2 separate regions of the Homo sapiens genome follow, and region 2 is linked to region 1. Evidence: promoter capture Hi-C in 16 types of primary human blood cells and fetal thymus (Javierre and others, 2016). All regions are on one chromosome and are shown on one strand. Each heading gives the region's core, a stretch centred on a gene start or on the middle of the fragment in contact. The rest is flanking DNA. Distances are from core to core; before and after follow the strand shown.

What was found. The method cuts DNA at HindIII sites, captures the fragments that hold promoters and counts their contacts. A CHiCAGO score of 5 or more calls a contact.
Region 2: a contact is called between a fragment that was not itself captured here and the fragment with the promoter of GINM1 in region 1, in 1 of 17 cell types (neutrophils). The highest score is 5.4, in neutrophils.

The regions. Positions count from the first base shown.
Region 1 is chr6:149,564,559-149,567,624 of GRCh38, reverse strand. GINM1 (glycosylated integral membrane protein 1) reads right to left here and starts at 1,250. Exons shown (of 8, transcript NM_138785.5): 1 at 1,091-1,250. The coding sequence starts at 1,210. RefSeq lists enhancers at 654-703, 1,954-2,083 and a silencer at 974-1,523. The HindIII fragment of the contact is 6,228 bases long and covers 1-3,066 here.
Region 2 is chr6:152,445,081-152,448,256 of GRCh38, reverse strand. It overlaps SYNE1 (spectrin repeat containing nuclear envelope protein 1), which reads left to right. Exons shown (of 146, transcript NM_182961.4): 29 at 635-799. Among named protein-coding and RNA genes, the nearest start is that of SYNE1-AS2, 44 kb to the right of the region's middle. The HindIII fragment of the contact is 1,161 bases long and covers 947-2,107 here.

The sequences.
Region 1 (3,066 bases), core at 1-2,500:
CCCTCACCCAGGCTGGAATGCAGTGGCACGATCTCGGCTCACTGCAACCTCTGCCTCCCGGGTTCAAGCAATTCTCCTGTCTCCGCCTCCCGAGTAGCTGGGACTACAGGCACCTGCAACCACGCCCAGCTAATTTTTCTATTTTTAGTAGAGACGGGGTTTCACCTTGTTGGTCAAAGTGACACTTACCGTGCCCTTCGCCTTTGTATTTAGAGTGTTCATATTCAAGTCTTGACTAGGAAGAGGTGTACCGACATAGTTTCTTGTCATTCTCAGAACACTTGCTCTTTAAAATATTCAAACTTTTCCCTACCATTCTACTGAAAAAAGGCTGATACTGGCCTAGGTAGGCACGACTCTACGGCAGGAATGGTGAGCATCAGCCACGTTTTAATGTTAGGATGCCTCGATTCTCCCACCTCAGCTGGCATCAGAAGCACCTGCAGGACTCTCCAACCCGGACTGCTGGGCCCCGCCCCCAGAGGCCGGGCTGAGTCCCCAGGGGATGCGGACACCGCCGATCGCGCCCCGCCGTGAGAACTTCTCCTCCAACATCCGACAAAAACATTACGTCGCGCGAGGGCCAGGTCTCTCCCTCTGCCCACCTGAGCCCGGCGGAGCCCCGCAGCCTCGGAACGGCGGACCCTCGCGATCGCAGGCCGAGCAGGCACAAGTGGCCTGGAAATGCGCGAAGTGGGCAACTTCCACACTTCCCGAGCACACAAACATTCCTTGCCCAAGCGCTGGCTCTACCCCGGGAAGGCGCCATTACGAAGGCCTGATCACCGGCAACCGCGCGCTTCGACGGCAAAGCCCCGTCAGGTCGCGCGCCGGCTTGGGCCGCCGGAGAGTCGGTGTGGAGTGGCTCGAGGCTCACTCACAGCGACGCAGCCCCAGTGGGTCCCTTTCCTCTTACCTCGGCCTCCCACGCCGCCCCCATTTCCTGGGGTGCTTCTCCCCACACCTCCTTCGGGGGCCCGGACCCCCGCCCCTGCCCGCCGGTGGGATGTGGGAAGCGTCACTGTGGACAGCCCGGGCCTCCCGGAGAGTCGGAGTCGTAAAGCGGCCAGCCAGGCCCGCCCTGCCCTACCTGTGGGGCTCCGGACAGCGGCGGCGGCTCGGGGGCGCCCGTCGTCAGCCAGCCGGAGGCGGGTAGCGCCACGAACAGCAGGAGCCGGAGGGCGAGCGACCCCGGTGGAGCGCCCTCCATCTTGGACAACCCGGGCAGAGGGCAGCCGCGGCCGGGAGGTGAGGGCGGAGCCGGCCCGCGGGCGGGACGGAGCTTCGGCGGGAGGGACGGGGAGGGGCGGGGAGAGACGGGGAGGGGCGGGACGGGCCCTCCCCTCCCCGGGCGGCCGCGGAGAGGCGCGGGGACGCTCCGAGATCCGGCTCGCCAGGGAAAGGCGTTTGCGCACGCGCAGCGCCGCGCGGCGTCGAGGGGCGGAGTGAAATCTTGGAAGGTACGGCCCCTCATTAGACCCGCCCTCAGGATTGGACAGGACTCCAACTGGAGCGATGTAAATGTCCTCGTAACCATTATTTTTAAAATTAGTATTTACACACATGCATGTGTCTGTGTGTGCACATGTACATGTACCTATACGATGAAAACAACGGTAATATTTCAGAAAACTGTTATACATTAAAAATGAAACATCGCATTTACAGGGGAAGTTTTTATTAAGTGGGTAATTCCCCACCCTTGGCTGCACGTGGGACTCTCCCGGGCAGCTTTAAAAAGTACTGGGGTCTTCCTGAACACCCCACTTTCCAGCCTGGGCTGCGGCTCGGGCCCTGGTGGTTTTTTAATTTTCTCGGGTGATTCATTGTGGGGCCAAGGTTGAGGATGCGCCATGCTTACTGTTCAGCATTCTGCCGACCCCTGGAGGCGGCGCGGGGACAGCGCTCAGCTGGAAGGAAGCCAGCGCACCTGGGCTGTCAGTGCCTTTTTGGTCAGTATCGTAACTCTAAAGTGAAAGTGTTAGACTTTTCTTCCACCTTGCAGATTTAAAAAAAAAAAAAAGTTACGGAACCCTGTAAAGCAGAGTAGCAAGAAATTCAAGCATTTTAGATTAACAGGATTGCATGTTGATTGAGAAAAACTTGGAAACTTGGCCATTCAGGCAGAATAAGAGTAATATTTAGTCTTCCTTTGAAATAAAACTTTTGACATGAAATAAAACTTTTGACATGAAAAAGGAAACAAGAATCTATTTCTCTCTTTGAGCCCCCTTTACTCCTTTGAACACCCTCCTCCCACAGGCCTGCTGACCGCCACCGCCCCCTCCCCCGGCCCCGCCCCAGAATAAATTATAAACGTTTTGGCTAAAGACTCCTTTCAACTAACTCCGGGCTTACTCTGAGATTCCCCACGCCATTGTTAAGCTACAAGTGATTTCACAGCGAAGCCCCACACACTTCTGGGTTCCATCTGCAAACTTGGCCTTTTCCTTTTTTTCCTACTGCTGGAATTAAAAATGAATTTGGAGATGGGCGTGGTCATTTGTGCCTGTACTCCCAGCTATGCAGCAAACGCAGGCAGGAGGATCGCCTGAGTCTATTAAAAAAAAAAAAAAAAAAAGGAATCTAGAAGCCGGGTGCAGTGGCTCACGCCTGTAATCCCAACACTTTAGGAGGCCGAGGCGGGTGGATCACTTGAGGTCAGGAGTTCGAGAATAGCCTGGCCAACATGGTGAAACCCCATCTCTACTAAAAATACAAAAATTATCCAGGCATACTGGCACGCACCTGTAATTCCAGCTACTAGGGAGGCTGAGGCAGGAGAATCGCTTGAACCCAGGAGGCGAAGGTTGCAGTGAGCCAAGATCGCGCCATTGCACTCCAGCCTGCGCGGTGGAGCGAGACTCCGTCTCCAAAAAAAAAAAAAAGAATCTGGAAGTCAGAAAACATGACATGTGGATCTGTATAATTTGAATTAGTAATATAAGGTTACAAAGTACGTCTATATGAAAAGATAATAGGTAAAGTTGAGGCTCTCTGTTTTCTTACAAAGCCTTTCCCATGGTCTAACTGTCCATTATTCTTTATTGTTTATCTGTCTCGTCA
Region 2 (3,176 bases), core at 278-2,777, 2.9 Mb before region 1:
AAGGTCTGAAGCCCTGGAGTCTTTCTAGCATTTTCTTATCAATAAAGCCTCGCTTCCTAAATTAGAGCTGTGCTCCCATTTATACTTCTTGCTATATGGGATACTGGCTTCTAAAAGCTAATAAAAATTCAGCAGAAAATGTAAGTTAATGAAGTTAAAATAAATCTTTAGAGCATCCATAACAATATTCAACAAGTAGACTCTTCAATAAAAGAAATCAGCTGGTTGAAAAAAAGAACTTTCATTATTTTTTCACAAAATATCATCTTCTTTCCAGCTCAAAGGAAGTGAGATAACAAAGTGTATGTATGTTATAGTTGCCAATTGTGGCGTCTCATATTTTTCTACAGTATTTTTAGAATCATCTTTTTTCCCATCAAGGACATATCTATAAGTATCTAACCAATCTAATTATGAAGCTGATTCAAGAATAGACAACAGTTTTCTTTCAAGCACTTGTGGACTTTTGTTAAAAGTACATACAAAAAGTAAACTAAGCAGGCACTGTATTGCTGAATGATGTCTGGCTCTATTCTGCTCCACCTGCAAACCTTTTTAGGCTGAGTCCTTTATTGCTGGAAAGTTATGATTTCACAATTGCACTGTGTTCATCAAAAGTGTTCTCTCATTTCAGGAGATCAGAAATGGTGTTACCAAAAGGGGTGAGACCCTCAGCTGGCTGAAATCCAGGCTGAAAGTTTTGACAGAAGTTTCTTCTGAGAATGAAGCCCAAAAGCAGGGAGATGAGCTGGCAAAATTATCCAGCTCTTTCAAGGCTCTTGTGACGCTGCTGTCAGAGGTACAGCATTTACTCACACTCTAAACAGACAGTTCTGAGTGAGGCATCTGGAAGGTTCTTTTTCTTCTGGTTGTAGTTTAGCAAGTAATTTTATAAAGAAACCATAGTTGAAACAGAATTGTTGTTATGCTTTTTTTGTATGAAGCTTGTTGGGAAAGATGAAGAGGATGTTTGATGTATGGTCTGTGCCATTATTGGAAATGTTAGTTCAGGTTCATGACCTATATCTGAAATATAAAACTTGTCAAATCCACTGTTTTTACTCTTATAAAAAGCATTGTTATTTTATGGTCAGCTTAAGATAAATCATGGAGGCTAAGAATAAGGCTTAGGGTCAAAGAAATCCAGGATTAGAGTTTAAATGTGATACCCTACCTCCTAGGTAACCTTCAACTTACGTAACATCTAGGTCTTGATTTCCTTATTTATAACACAGGGTTAAAAATACTCACTCTAAAAAGAAGTATCATGAATTAAATGCAGTAATGTATGTTAAGCACATAGTGTAGTTCCTGAAACAGAGTAAATGCTCAATAGCTGGTTCTTAGTAATAATAAAATATTCAGTGTTTAATCAGCAGGCCAGTGAAATTCTCTTCCTAGTGCTTTGATATGCATTTTAATGTTTTTCTATATTCCTTTATAGATTAAAATATACAAACGCATCTACTTCATTTCCAGTAGGGCCACTTCCACCATCAGCAAAAATATTTTTACTGACCAGGTTTTTATATAAATCTAAGTTTGTGCTTTGGAAGATAATGTAAGAACGTAAAGTAGAATAGATATTTACCAGTATTTCTTGAAATCATTTAAGTAGAAACTTGCATGGAAAAATGGCCTAATGGATTACAAGAAAATGACCACAAAGCTCTGTTTCTGAAAATCTGAAATTCTCCACAGAGATTTCTCATCTAACAATTCATCTGTTAACCTTCATGTTTTTAATCCATTTAAATCTGCTTGAGACTCTAGTGCTGAATTTACATAAGCCAAAAATACTCTGAACTGCTTACGATTTTAGTTTTATGTGAGAATTTTTATATATAAATTAGAGTTTCCCTATGAGTTTTTGACAAATTGAAAATAGTTCTATGATTAATCAAATTTTGGAACATAACCTATTTCAATCCTTTGATTATCCATCTTTCAAAGCAACGGCCACATTTAGCCAGTTGCCTGTTTTGCTCTTTCCTTCCCTCTTTTGGTGACAGGAAAAGCAAAAACAACATTCTAAAAAGTTAGTGTACATGAAGGTGATCTTTGAGCCAAGATCAAACAAATACTTGTCGTTATTCACAGACAAGCTTGTAATATATTTTGTCTCACCAAAAAAAAAAAAAAAAAAAATTGACTGTCTTTAAAGTTAGAAGTCAGTAGTTTCCCTAACATTTACCAAGGCCATTTGCTTTATCTTCCAAGTACTGTCATGATTTTGCCCCAGGACTTATAGTAAGAATCTCTCTCTAATGAATGTTCATACAGACATTAATTTTTTACACACTCATCTGCCTTAAACTTCTGCATAATTTATATTAATACCCTTTTCCACTACTTGATCACTTACTTAGTGAAAGCAGAAAGAGAGGAAAGGAGAAAAACACATTTTGTTTACAGATAGATTTGTATGAAGAGATGGATGTGGCACATTCAGCCCCTTTCTTTGATAATAATTCATTTAGTATTTAAATTAATGTTGAACACAATGTGTTTGCAATTGTCCAGTGTAAGAAAAAAAAAGACTGTGGGTGGATGCACAAGATACAGTGAAGAGTCATTATTTCAATAGATTTGCTCTGATTTATATTGAAATTGGGAGTTTGTGGTTTTCGTAAGGTCTCATTGCTGCTTGTTTGGAGAACAGATTGCTCTCCTTGGAAAAACTTAGATCAGAAGAGAGTCAAAGAAAAAAGATAGGATAAAAGAAGAAGAAACTGGAAGGCTTCTGTGGAAAACAAATGACAACATGTAAAAAGGAGGATCTTAGTGAAGATAAAGGATAGGCTTCGAAAACAAAGGATGTTGGTAAAACTGAAATAGAGGAAGCAGAAATTAGACAAGAAAATTCAAAATTTAGGGAAATGATAAGGAAGAGAATCCATTAGATGACTACAAAATTGTAAATTATATTTATTTTTATGTAGGAATATTGGAAGCACATTTATAACAAATACTCTTTTATTCTCTTTTTCAACTCTACAAATGTTTTCCTATTTGTTTTAAATAATACGGACTCACTTTCTTGTAAGGCACTTTTATAATTAGGTTTTAGTCACGCAATTATAATGAAAGAGACCTAAAAGGCAATATATATATATATAATATATGCAGTTTTGTTATCCTTCCTTGATTACCAGGTTGAATGGGTTTTTAATATG